Regions from separate parts of the Homo sapiens genome. Here all the other regions are linked to region 1. Evidence: promoter capture Hi-C in 16 types of primary human blood cells and fetal thymus (Javierre and others, 2016). All regions are on one chromosome and are shown on one strand. The core of a region is centred on a gene start or on the middle of the fragment in contact, and the rest is flanking DNA. Distances in the headings are between cores, read along the strand shown.

What was found. Contacts are between HindIII fragments. The CHiCAGO score rates a contact against its expected background, and 5 or more counts as called.
Region 2: the fragment with the promoter of IGFL3 here is called in contact with a fragment that was not itself captured in region 1 in 1 of 17 cell types (M2 macrophages); the score reaches 5.4 in M2 macrophages.
Region 3: a contact is called between the fragment with the promoter of IGFL2 here and a fragment that was not itself captured in region 1, in 1 of 17 cell types (M1 macrophages). The highest score is 5.6, in M1 macrophages.

What each region holds. Positions count from the first base shown.
Region 1 is chr19:46,444,709-46,449,454 of GRCh38, reverse strand. No RefSeq gene overlaps it. Among named protein-coding and RNA genes, the nearest start is that of PNMA8C, 18 kb to the right of the region's middle. The HindIII fragment of the contact is 2,746 bases long and covers 481-3,226 here.
Region 2 is chr19:46,122,526-46,127,271 of GRCh38, reverse strand. It overlaps IGFL3 (IGF like family member 3), which reads left to right and starts at 2,584. Exons shown (of 4, transcript NM_207393.2): 1 at 2,584-2,647; 2 at 2,951-3,004; 3 at 3,116-3,386. The coding sequence starts at 2,623. It also overlaps a transcript of IGFL2 not described here. The HindIII fragment of the contact is 3,515 bases long and covers 223-3,737 here.
Region 3 is chr19:46,145,767-46,150,512 of GRCh38, reverse strand. IGFL2 (IGF like family member 2) reads right to left here and starts at 2,275. Exons shown (of 4, transcript NM_001135113.2): 1 at 2,216-2,275. The coding sequence starts at 2,234. The HindIII fragment of the contact is 5,659 bases long and covers 2,043-4,746 here.

The DNA.
Region 1 (4,746 bases), core at 604-3,103:
ATATTGTCAAGCACTTGCTGAGTGCCAGCAACCATCCTAAACACTTGATGTATCTGTGTCCAATAGCCTCAGTACAACGCTGCAGGGATTCAGTTATCACTGATTCACAGTTTCAGAAACAGAGTCCCCAGGAGATAAAGAAACTTGCTGTCTCGGGCCGGGCTTGGTGGCTCGTGCCTGTAATCCCAGCACTTTGAGAGGCTGAGGTGGGCGGATCACCTGAGATCAGGAGTTTGAGACCAGCCTGACCAACATGGTGAAACCCCATCTCTACTAAAATATAAAAAATTAGCCGGGCATGGTGGTGGGTGCCTGTAGTCCCAGCTACTTGGGAGGCTGAGGCAGGAGAATCGCTTGAACCCAGGAGGCAGAGGTTCCAGTGAGCCGACATCACCCCACTGCACTCCAGCCTGGTGACAGAGCAAGACTCTGTCTCAAAAAAAAAAAAAAAAGAAAAAAAGAAACTTGCTGTCTCAAGCTTCTGTCACTGTAACAAATTACCATAAATGGATTAACTTAAGGCAACACAAAATTTATTGGCTGCCAGTTCGGAAGGTTACAAGTCTGAATGGATGAGCAGGGCCGTGTTCCTTTGGAGGCTCCAGGGAAGAGTACGTGTCCTCACCTTTCCCAGAGTACAGGGGCCACCTGCATTCCTTGGCTTGGGGCCGTTTCTTGCATGACTCCAAACCCTGCTTCCATTGGCACGTTCCCTTTTCCGATTCTGACCCTCTCGTCTCCCTCTTTTCTTTTTAAATTTTATTTATTTATTTATTTATTTATTTATTTATTTAGACAGAGTCTTGCTCTGTCGCCCAGGGCAATCTTGGCATACTGCAATCTCCGCCTCCCGGGTTCAGGCGATTCTCCTGCCTCAGCCTCCTGAGTAGCTGGTACTGTAGGCACTTGCCACCACACCTGGCTAATTTTTGTATTTTTAGTAGAGATGGGGTTTCACTATGTTGCCCAGGCTGGTCTTGAACTCCTGAGCTCAAGCCATCCTCCTGCCTTGGCCTCCCAAAATGTTGGCATTATAGGTGTGAGCCACTGAGCTTGGCCTTCTTTATAAAGACCTTTGTAATGACATTGGTCCCACCCAGATAATTCAGGATCATCTTCCAAGTCCCTTTTGCTACATGAAGTCACCTATTTACAGGTTCCAGGACTTAGGAGGTGGTTGTATTTGAGGACCATTATTCAGCCCTCAAATCATGGGGTGGAGACTGTGCCCATGACAGGCCCTGTTGGCTCTCGTGCCCAGAGCCAAACTCCAGCCCAGCTTCAGAGGCCCTGCAAGTTCTGGGCACTGCTTTCCCTCCAGGCCCCCAGCTCCCCAGCTCCTCACCCCTGCCTCTGGGCTCCAGTTCCTGGAAGGTAACTCGTTTCCTTTGGCCATGGCCTGGGAACAGGCTTCCAGGCCCTTCCCTCCCCTGCAGCCTGGCCTGGCCATGCTGGGTTCCTGGAGTTCAGCTCACAGGGACCAGGTGGCCAGTTGGAAGGGCAGACAGGCCACCCAGCACCAGATTCCAGGACCCCGAGAGAACCGGGGAACCAGAGTGCCTGGGGATTTGCAGACAGACTGTGAACTGGGCCATACTTATCTTTCCCCCTCCCATGCGAAAGCCATTTCCTCCCACGAAGCAGGAAAAATCTCAGCCAGCCTCTGGGATTTCACTGAAAACCCAGCACCACAAACCTCAAACATGGAGTCCTCCTGTTTTTCTAGTAAGTTTTTTTCTCCAAGACGGCAGCTTCTGAGTCTCCTCTCTCCTCAAGACTCCCAGTGCCCTGAACCAGCCTGAATCTTCACCCACTGATCTTCCATCTAAAAATAAAACACATCTGTACAATAAAATGTCATTTATCAAGAACAGAGCACAGAGGACTGGGTACTGTGGCTTACGCCTGTAATCCCAGCACTTCGGGAGGCTGAGGCTGGAGGATCTCTGGAGGCCAGGAGTTTGAGACCAGCCTGGACAACATGGTGAAAGCCCATCTCTACTAAAAATACAAAAAAATTAGCCAGGCATGGTAGTGCAAGCCTGTGATCCCAGCTGCTTGGGAGGCTGGGGCAGGAGGATCGCTTGAGCCCAGGAGGATTGCTTGAGCCCCAGGAGGTCAAGCACAGAGAAGTATTATGGAGTACTGTTTAAGAGTGTGAATTCTGCTGCCCGATTGCCCACCTTTAAGCAGCCCTGCTTCTTACCAGCTGTGTGACTTTGGGGAAGGTGATTGCCCTCTGTGCCTGCTTCCTCATTTGTAAGATGAGGATGACAGAATATAACAGTAGCTACCTCAAAGGCTTTTCATGCAAATGAAGTATTTGCAAAGTGCTTGGAACAGGGTCAGGCATATAGTAAGCATCATCTACATTTTTGTTAAATAATAAAATTTGTTTCTTCAGCTTCTTACCAGGAAATCTGCATTTGCTGGACGTGTGTGCCCTTGTCCTTCTCTCCTGCCCCTTGGAGGACGTTTCTGTGCTTCATATTGAAAGCCAGTCCTGTGGCCAGGCACGGTGGCTGACGCCTGTAATCCCAGCACTTTGGGAGGCCGAGGCGGGTGGATCACTTGAGGCCAGGAGTTCGAGATCCAGCCTGGCTAATATGGTGAAAACCTGTCTCTACTAAAAATACAAAAATTAACCGGGCGTGGTGGCGGGTGCCTGTAATTCCAGCTACTTGGGAGGCTGAGGCAGGAGGATCGCTGGAGCCTGGGAGGCTGCAGTGAGCCATGATTGCACCACTGCACTCCAGCCTGGGTGACAGAGTGAGACCCTGTCTCGAAAAGGAAAAAAAAAAAAGGAATTTTTCTCTCTCTCTTTATTTTTTTTTACAGTGTTATACACCTTGCTTTATTAAACAGTGTTTTGTGAGGATGTCAGCAAATCATTTCATACAAAGGAAATCTTCCCATCTCAGCACATAGAGAACTTCCTCCTTATTTCGTGTAACCATGCATAGTATTCTACTACACGGATGCGCCACAATTTATGTTTGTGTACCACTAAGCATAGTCCTCTATAAATGGATACACTCCAATTCCAACCGATTGCTGTTACTCTCTTTAGTTTTCCAAACACTCACTCTTGGGCTTCCCCCCAGCCCTCTTCTGCTGTCTCCTGGATTCTTTGTCTGCTGTCTGACACTGACACGCTGGGACTGCCAGAGGCATGGGCTTGGGCCATCTCTTCGTCTTTCCCCACACCCTTTCCCTAGATCAAGCTTCTCCAACTTGCGGCCCGTGGGCTGCATGCGGCCCAGGATGGCTCTGAAGGTGGCCCAACACAAATTCGTAAACTTTCTTAGAACATTATGAGATTTTGGCCGGGTGCGGTGGCAACGCCTATAATCCCAGCACTTTCGGAGGCTGAGGCGAGCGGATCACCTGAGGTCGGGAGTTCGAGACCAGCCTGACCAACATGGAGAAACCCTGTTTCTACTAAAAATACAAAATTAGCCGGGTGTGGTGGTGCATGCCTATAATCCCAGCTACTTGGGAGGCTGAGGAAGGAGAATCACTTGAACCCAGAGGTGGAGGTTGCAGTGAGCCGAGACTGGGCCATTGCACTCCAGCCTGGGCAACAAGAGCGAAACTCCGTCTCGAAAACAAAAAACAACAACAACAACAAAAAATGAGATTTTTTTTTTTTGCGATTTTTTTTTTTTTTTAGCTCATCAGCTATTGTTAGTGTTAGCGTATTTTATGTGTTGCCCAAGACAATTCTTCTTCCAGTGTGGCCCAGGGAAGCCAAAAGATTGGACACCTCTGGCCTAAATGAGCTCATCTAGCTCCATGGCTTAAGATATTTCCCGTGTGCCAATGGCTTCTAAATTTTTATCTCCACCCCATCTCTGAACTCCAGGCTCATATATCTAACTCGGCTTGGAAGCCTACAAGGCATATCAAATTTAAGACATTCAAAATGGGATTCCCCACTCCCAAGTTCATTTTCCCTAGAGCTTCCTCATCTCACTGAATGGACGCACCATCATTCTAACAGTTCAAGCCCAAAGCTGAGTCAATTAAAAAAAACAAAAAACAACAACAACAAAAAAGCCGGGCGCGGTGGCTCACGCCTGTAATCCCAGCACTTTGGGAGGCTGAGACAGGTGGATCACCTGGGGTCGGGAGTTTGAGACCAGCATGACCAACATGGTGAAACCCCATCTCTACTAAAAACACAAAATTAGCCGGGCATGGTGGTGCGTGCCTGTAATCCCAGCTACTCGGGAGGCTGAGGCAGGAGAATCGCTTGAACCTGGGGTGGCGTAGGTTGCAGTGAGCCGAGATCGTGCCATTGCACCCCAGCCTGGGCAACAAGAGGGAAACTCCGTCTGAAAAAAAAAAAAGTTTTGTATTGAGGTGAAATTCACATAATATAAAATGAACCATTTAGAAATAATATAAAATGAACCATTTAGAGTGTACACAGCTGGGCAAGGTGGTTCACGTCACCAGCACTTTGTAATTCCAGCACTTTGGGAGGCCAAGGCAGGAGGATCACTTGAGCCCAGGAGTTCAAGACCAGCTGGGGCAACATGGTGGGACCCCGTCTCTACAAAAACTTTAAAAATTAAGGACCAGGAGAGGTGGCTCACGCCTGTAATCCCAGCACTTTGGGAGGCCGAGGTGGGCAGATCATGAGGTCAGGAGATTGAGACCATCCCCGCTAACACGGTGAAACTCCGTCTCTACTAAAACTACAAAAAAAAAATTAGCCGGGCGTGGTGGCGGGCACCTGTA
Region 2 (4,746 bases), core at 1,335-3,834, 320 kb after region 1:
ACTGCAGGCATGTACCACCATGCCCAACTAATTTTATTTTTGTTTTCTGGTACAGACAGGGTCTCGCTTTGTTGCCCAGGCTGGTCTTGAACTCCTGGCTTTAAGCTGTTCTCCCACCTCAGCCTCCCAAAGTGCCAGGATTACAGGTGTCAGCCACTGTGCCCAGACTATTTTGCAGCTTTCTTAAGAAAGCACAGTTGAGGAGAGAAAATACGAAAAGCTTGACACACTCCAGCTACTGTGCTGGGAGCTTTTCAAGTGTGTCTTCATCTGATCCTCATAAATATACTAAGTTTCAAATTGGAATGACTCTCCTCCACTCAGAGATGTACATATATATTCTACATTCCCATACCCTTGAACTAGTGATGCATCGTATCATCAATAGGGTCTTGCAATAGCTATCAGACAAGCAGAGTGACATAGCTGCTGCCAGTTGTACAGGGACGAACTAAGTCTTCAGGTTAATATTCTTGACACTTCAATTAAGTTGTGTGGATTGCTTATGTTTCATGTGTTGAGTGTAACTGTCATTTTAAATATCAGAAAACACCATGATTTGGCTTGTGTGTTGTGTGTGCAGAATGACACATTAATAGAAGACGATGACGTAAATTTACTGTTAATGAAGCACATGCTCATTGTTTTAGGAATGAACCCAAGTACATATTTTCTTGCAGATCAACAACCAAGTGCTTTATGGGGCACAAGAAGATAAAGAGATGAAGAGTATCACATTTTGTTTCTGAGACAGGCACAGAAGGATTGCCTAGCACAAGGAAAACAACATAATGAAAGGCAGAAGGAGTTGTCAAAATCTCTAGGAATAGATGAAAGAAAATTCAAAGAAAGAAGGGGCTAGTGTCACCAGTTCAATGATAACTTGCAGTATGGGTGTCAGCAGCTTAGAATAAAACCAAACTTTGCATGACCAATGCTGTTGGTAGAACTGAGAATGATGTTGTGTAAGAAAGCACAGGAACCAATCTGGGGTTGAAAGATGATTCACAGGAGGCAGTCTCCAAATGTGGAGACATTTTAAGAAATCTTTAACAGATTTATTTCCCATATATTTTTATTTTTCTATTCGCCTTCCAAAAGTCTACGTCTCAACATGTTGCAAGAAGCTCTGTTAATAAACATTCTAAGTGATGAGATTGCATCTTAGAGTTGCAAAACAACAGTGTATCTTTCAATAACATCTTAGTGTTAATGAGATACAACATAAGGATTTCTCTAAATGATTATCATTATAAAATGCATTAAAAATTATCCCTTCAAGCTGCCCCTTGCCACTTCTGTAAGATGAAAAATTAAGTACACATTAACTTCCCAATGCCCAATAGTAAAGCTGAAGTTTCATTTGGAATAAGAATGATAATTGTATATTAAAGATATTATTATTTGTCCTTTGTATTTTACCTAATCAAACTCAAACGTTTCTTTTTAACATTTGGTAGTAAACAAGCTGACAGCCTGGGCTCACTAGGAATCTTCACATTGTTGGCCTTCTTAGGTTCCGGGGTAGGGGAGAGCAGCCTTGTGCATCCAAACCACACCCCACACCTCCGCACATGTACAGGAAGCTAAGAATGAAGCTCAGAAAAGGAGAACCATTTCAAAGGCTATGGTACAGGCTGGATGAACTTAAGTCAGCAACTCTTCCCTATGCTGTGCCAGCAAGTGGAGGATGGAAAGTCTGGCCAATCCTTAGACATTTTCTGATTGAATCATCACACATCCATGAAGACTGAGGTCCTTTCCACAGCTTCGGGATTATTTGAATTTGTCCAAGCCCTTCCCTAGCTGGCACTTGCCTGGCAGGCCTCAGTTTGCCCTGCCCTTCCCTCTGTCTGCACACCTAAGTACTACACACTCCTAAGTACTACATCACTTATCATTGGCCACTAATATAATATGATTATGAAAAGCAGGTGTTTAGTACTTTCCCTGACCATGTAACTAAGATGCTGGAGGTCTCTGAATCCTCACACCAAGCACACCAGGAGATTTGGGCCATTGCTATTCTCCACCCCTACCCCCTTTATTGGAGTTTCCAGAGCCGTGGCTCAACTGCTAGAGCAGGTGGCAACTCTAATGACTCCAGAGCAAAAAATAAAGTGGCTTCATAAACGGTCCCCTTGACATTTCCAGAGACATCGTGCTTGGGGAATATAGAAGAAGCAAGTATTAGGAAGGGGAGGATGTGAAACCAGATGGGGAAGTGGCTGAAGCATTCTCTCTGATTGGAGCTTAGTTGGGCACTGTCTCCTCAATGTCGGAGCTTGAAAACTCTTAGAAGCCTAACTTGGAGTAGGACCAACCTACACTCATTCACCCTGAGGTCTGCAATAGTATATGGAGAATGCAATGAGTCAGTCTGCAACATTCGGCTCTGTGGTCCCTTACGCCACCCAGTCTCCTCCTTAAAGAAACTAATGAATGTGCTTGGGAGACTTTGGTTATCTTCAAGGAATGTGCTTGGGAGACTGCAGGTGGCATGATCAGCAGCCATCCAATCAGTAAACTTACCAGGTTAACAGACAACCCCATTTAGGCTGTCTCCATAAGTTCCAGCCTTTTACCACTCTTCTTCAATTCTCCTAGAGCATCTTTGGAAGCATGAGGCCACGATGCTGCATCTTGGGCAAGTAGGACCCCAAATCCAAACATCATCTCATCTCATTCCCAGTGCAGCTCCCAAACCTCAACCCGATTTATTCCTCTTTATCTCTAACATTATTCCAGCCTCCTGTGCCCTACTAGTCACCTCAAAGGGTGACTGAGCGTGCTGCTCAGGGCCTGCCTGAACGGGATCCCATACAGACTTAGCCCCAAGTGATAATCTCCACCTTTAAACCACCCTAACCTCTGTTTGTTTGTTTGTTTGTTTTTTCCATACTTGTCACATTCTCAGCTCCATGTTCAACCTTTTTCCTTTCTCCCTTAGCTCTTGTCTGCTGGATAACAGTCTTCCTCCTCCAGTGTTCAAAAGGAACTACAGGTAAGGACAGGACAGGGAAAAATGAGGAGGGAAGAGGTGGTGTTGGGAAAAGAGACTGGGAATTGAGTATCTGTTCTTCCTTGGATGTACACCATCAATGTCTGCCCCCAGACGCTCCTGTTGGCTCAGGACTGTGGCTGTGCCAGCCGACACCCAGGTGTGGGAACAAGATCTACAACCCTTCAGAGCAGTGCTGTTATGATGATGCCATCTTATCCTTAAAGGAGACCCGCCGCTGTGGCTCCACCTGCACCTTCTGGCCCTGCTTTGAGCTCTGCTGTCCCGAGTCTTTTGGCCCCCAGCAGAAGTTTCTTGTGAAGTTGAGGGTTCTGGGTATGAAGTCTCAGTGTCACTTATCTCCCATCTCCCGGAGCTGTACCAGGTAAAGGTCCCTACCTTGCTCTTAACTAAAGGAATGAGGGAGGGATGAGGGATACAGAGGGCTTGAAGAGGAACTCCTGTTTGTGGAGTTCTAACGGCAAAAGAGTCAGGCTGGTGGCAGCAGGGGAAAGCAAAAAGAAGAAGCAGATAAGCTATAAGTCTGCCTTTCTTCATGGTCGAGGACAAACAGTCCTCCTGCATAAATAACTCACAATCTTCTTGCACCCAGCTATCACCAGACACTCAGCTGGTAGAAAAATGCAAGCAGTGCAGTTGCCTTCCTGATGTAAAAAAACATGCTAAATAATCCAGTGTCAGGAAGACAAAGATGTTTTGCTTCTCTGAAGAAGCTTATAATAATATACAGTATATGTATATGCAGGGAACAATTGGTCAAAAGTGGCTTTTTTGTTTCCCCAAGGGGAAAGACTGGCTTTGTAATTATAATTTTTTCCTTACTTTACTTAAAACTGGTAGAGTCTAAGTATTGTATGAAGTGTCCATGATTCTGTCAGTAAATTTGAGCATATTTTTATTAGTTAATGTCAGTTTAAGTAGTCCTTTTGTTTCTATTTTTAAGATGAATTTTAAATTCTATCTGAAATCAGTAAGATACCTGGAGAAAAACTGCAGTGAGAGGAGGTCAGTATCCTTTTTCAGGAGGAACTGATATCTCTGGCTAAATATCTGTCCTTTTATTATGGTTTCTAAATCGGTTATTTTCTTCAGCTTTAAGTTCATAAAATTAAAAAAACTATTAAAAAATTCCTGTAGCTGTTGGAATAATTAAAAATTCTGGTGCAGTGGTGGTATACCAATCTTTAGAATTCTTAAGTAATCTAATGTTTCAAGTTGAGGTCATGCTTGGGAAAATCATGTCATAGCATTTACATTATTTTCAAATGTCATTTTTTTTACCCTGGAAAGAAGTAATAATGTTCATCATAACCCTAGCAGTCTGGATAGTGAGCTAAACAAACCCTTGGAAGATTACATTTTAATCAAGTAGACTAGGAATACAAAAAACAAGTCCTTCCTCCCCTTCCTCCCACCTTTACAATCTTACTGGAAGGGTGTTCAGAAATTAAAATTTGTGTTTGCTAAGACTTTATTCTGTTGGGGGTTTTAAGAGGTAATACGTGTAATGTAAAATGTATGTAAACCATTGCAGTTTTTTGGGGCATTTTTCCATGCAACAGTAAGTTGTCTGACAGTAACCGAATGTAACTTACAGAAAGTAATTAAAAGTTATATTCAGAATAACAGCAATCAGGCCTTGGATGTTCTTTATTAAACTCTTTTCAGGCAGTAAACTTTACCAAAAAAATCTGTCATTTTCTAAAGTCCTTGTGCTAAAACTG
Region 3 (4,746 bases), core at 1,026-3,525, 300 kb after region 1:
AATTATTCTTTGTCAACTTCTTAAAAAGATTCCTAGCAGAAAACATACAAGTAAGTCTTAATGACCTCGAGTTAGGTAATATTTTCTTAGATATTACACCAAAAGCACAAGAGAGAAAAGAAAGAATAGACTTCATCAAAAATTAAAAACCTATGCACTGCAAGCAATAGCATCAAGGAAATGAACACAATCCACATAATGAGGAAAGTATTTGCAAATTATATATATGATAAGGGATGAGTATCCAGCATATCTTCTAAAACTCTTACAACTAAATAATAATAAAATAAATAACCCAATTTAAACATGGAAAAATCTGAATAAACCTTTTCTCAAAAAGGAATACAAATGGCCAATAAGCACATGGAAAAGACACTCAGCATTGTTATTTACCAAGGAAACGCAAATTAAAACTACACAGGATATCACACCCACCCACCCAGATGACTGTAATAAACAGGAAAATAGAAAATAACAAAGGTTGAAGAATCTGGAGAGAAATGTGAGCCCTCATACACTGCTGGTGGGAATGTAATTGATGCAGCTCTGTGGAAAACAGTTTGCCAATTCCTCAAAAAGTTAAACAGAATTACCATGTGGCGTAGCAATTCCACTCCTATGTGTACACCCAAGATAACTGAAAACAGGTTCTCAAGCAAATACATGTATACATATGTTTGTAACAGCACTATTCACAATAGCCAAATGGTGGAAACAGCCCAAGTGTCCATCAACAGATGAATGGATAAATGAATGCTGATACATGGATACAATTGAATTTATTCAGTTGTAAAAAGGAATGAAGTACTAATAAATTCTATAATGGGGATATGCCTTGAAAACATTAAGTTAAAAAAAAAGTTACACGAAAGGTCACTTATAAATGGTGTGATTCCATTTATATGAAATGTCCCAGATAGGTAAATCCATAGAGACAGAAAGCTGACTGGTGGTTGCCAAGGGTGAGGGTAGAGGGGAAAGAGAGGAACAGCTAAATGGGCATGCGGTGGTCGGGGGCTATGGAGCCAGGTGACTCGGAGGTAAAAAGCAATTCTGGAAGATGACTGAGCTACTCTTCCTTCAACTTGAGAGAGGAAGGAAGAGAAGGAAGGAGAGGAGGGAAAAGACAGGGAGGGGAGAGGGGAAGAGAAGAGAGGGGGATGTGAGACAGAGGGACACAGGGAGATGGGGAGGGGAGGGGGAGGGGGAGAGGGGAAGAGGGGGAGAGGTGGAAAGGGTGAGGGGTGAGTGGGAAAGAGAAAGAGAGAGAGAGAGAAAAGGGAGAGAGAGAAAAGAGAGGGAGAGAGAAAGAGAGGGAGAGAGAAAGAGAGAGAGAAGAGAGAGAGAGAGAAGAGAGAGAGGGAGAGAGAGAGATGGTTGCCCAAAAAGAAGTTAGTGAACACAGCAGGCATTGCTCATCTTGATGGAATACACACAACAAAACTCAGTCCACTGCCTGGGCTGCCCTTACTTACCCAGCACACTCCTGGGGTAGTCGGTCCTCATGCCTGAGACACTGAACCTCATGATTTCCTGGCGCTGAGAGCCCAGGAACTCCAGGCAATAGTGCCTGGGCTACAGGGCTGGGTCTGGTTCGAGGGCAGGATGATCCCCTCATCACAGTCCCAACAGATTGCAGATCTAGTCTCCACTCCTGAGTGTCAACTGGCACAACCACAGTCCAATATCTGGAAGAGTCAGAGCTGATGAGCTGGCAGGGGACCTCTGGGAGCCCCCAACCCTATCCACAGTGCTATAATCCTCCCTCCTTTCTTCTCCCTCCACTCACCACACCCATTCTCACCTATGGTCCCTTCTGAGTCTGAGCCCAGGAGTTCAAAAATAAAGATCAGCTGAGAGAAGAATGACAGTGATTCTGGGGTCACCAGATCATGATCATGGGGCACAAGATGATGTCTCTGAGTTTCTTTGGTTGCTGTAACAGCTCAGAGCAGATTTTGGGACTGACTCTGTGTGCAGGTTCTGGGCATTGGGCTTGGCAGGTGAGGAAATGCAGGGAGGGCTCTGGAAAGGGTTAAGCTTCTGGAATTTGCAGGTGGGGAAGAGAGATTGCAATGCAGTCAGAGAGGACACGGGTGATTATGAGGTGGGAAACCAAGAATTAAATAGGGAAGAGAGAATTAAGTTTGAGGTTCAGAGGTACATTAGGGATAACAGTAGGCATTAGCTCAACCTGGGGCAAGGGTTACCTTACCGAAGATTCTGGGCACCATGGAGCTTCAGAGCAGCTGATGGGACAGCAGCAGTGCAAATGGGTCAGTGACTTTATACAGGGACTTATGTAGGCTATGAACTTATCCACATTTAGGGAGGTGCCCAGAAGCACTGGCCTCTTGGAAAGGGTGGGGCATGAGAAGCCACAGAAAGCATAAGAAAAAACTGCATCAACAGCTTAGTAAGATGTTCCTGGACCTGTTCCAAGTGACTGCTACCTTCTCAGACCTCTCGAAATCTCAGAGTAAAGGCTTCCCTAGAACCTTTCAAAGCCGTGAGTGAGTGTCATTCTTTGAACTCTGCCCACGGCAAAGAGACTTGAAAGAGATTCCTTGGCTCTCACTTATCTGAGAGCATACTACTCACCAAACATCACAGCTGGTGATGAAACTTCATATTCATCCACCCTGAAGTTTCAAGGGGTCCCTCTACTCCCCATCTCAGTCCGGCTCCAGACCTGCACTATGAGAAACAAACGCACCCGTCCAAACCCAAAGAATGGACTCAGAGACACAGAAAACAGTGGAAGCAAGACTTTTAATGATGGTCTTGCAAGATTGAATGTCTGGTAGGCAGGCACACCCAGTACGGTTACAACAAGCTATTTATCCCCTAGTGCACAAGTCTCTCCCCTGGTTCCTCGTAGGCTAAGTACGATGGGGTCACGATCTTCCCAGACGTCGCCTATTGGTTGCTGGGTTGAGGCTTTTAGGTGTTTTCTTTAGGATTGTCTCACTGCATTTTGTTGCAGCCTATAATACATTGCAATCAAAGCCAGCTCGAGGGCTTTTCAAGTATTTGACTTATGACCTAGGCAGTCAGGCAAGCTGATAAGAATAGATAAAGTGAGCTATTTTGCTGGCTAGTAAACTTTCATTCTAGACTAAACTCTGGTTTGGGAGAGGGTAACTAAGGGGACCCCGACAAGCATGCACCAGCTATGGGCCTAGTATATTCTGTCCTTCCATAGTTTGTGGGCCTCAGCCTATCTGAGGTACTTTGTCTTGGAAATGGACCACCATATCCATTATTATAATTGTAGACAGCACTGTCTATAATTCTTCAGAGTCATTTAGGGGAAACTGTGAAGATGCAGCATAATCTAGAAAAAGAGCAGGGGCTGTAAAAACCCTGCCAGGGAGAACAGAAAAGGAACAGACAGTGATAAAATAGACATCTGGGATTCATAGAATAGATGGAAAGGCAGCCCCTTTTTGTTGTTGTTTCTGGAGTGCTTTGTCCAAGGAAACGCTCCTTCTGTGTTTCTTACTGTTATTTTATTGTCACCATCACTATTATTTGTGTCACTGGATACCATGTGGGCTATTATTAGAATGCGCTCCTGTGTTTTCCATTGACTTCCTTCCCATCCCACAGTGAGATAGGTGGGAGGGTGAGACAGAGATCAGGAGAGGTGTTAGGGCTTTATAAAAGTGCATTGTTAGTAGAAGAGTTCTGGACCTGATAAGTGAATTTAGAAAGGTTGTAGCGTATGAAACACACAGAAGTCAATTGTATTCCTTTATACTGGCAAGAACTAGTGGATACAATAATTTAAAGAAAAAAAATGCCATTTACAATACCCCCCTCCCCAAAAACTGAACTGGTATACTGTAAATCTAGGAGAACATATAAAGGATGTGTACGATTAAAGTATTCAAGGAAACCTTAAATACAGAGTGGTATATCATGTCGTGGTTTGGAATCTGTAATTTAGGTAAGATGCCAATTCTTTCCAAATTATCTACAGATTTAACACAATTCCAATCAAACCCAAGCAGGATTTGTCTGAGAGAGAAACAAAATAACTCTAGAATTTATATAGAAAAGCAATGGAAACTAGAATGGCCAACACAATTTTGGATGAGGAAAGATGGTAGAGGACTCACACTATCCAATTTCACAATTACTCAAGCTACAGTAATGACAACAGTGTAGTATTGGCAAATGGATAGACATGGATAGACACATAGATCAAAGGAACAGAATAGGTTCCAGAAATAAACCCAAACAAATATAGTAAATTGTCTTTTGGCAAAGATGTAAAGGCAATTCAATGGGGGAAAAGATAGTCATTTCAACAAATGGTGTGAGACAATGGGCATGCATATGAAAAAAAAAAAGAAGACTTCTACCAAAGCTCACACTCTATACAAAAGTTAACTCCAAATGGTCTAGATATGAAAAGTAAAACTACGTATTTCAAGGAGAAGGCATCAGAGAAAACATTTATATCTGGGAAAAGACATCAAAAGCATTATCCATTTTTTAAAAACAGATTGGACTTATCAAAATTTTAAAGTTAAACTTGATGAACAAATTGTTAAGTGAAGCAACAGACAGGCTACCAACTGCAGAAAGTGTCTGTGAATCACATCTCTAACATAGGACTTGAATCCAGAGTATATGAAAAACTCTCAAAACTCAAAGTGAAACAACAAACAAAATCATTAAGCATCGGCAAAATATCTGAACAGATGCTTTACAAAAGAGGACATACAGATAGCAAAT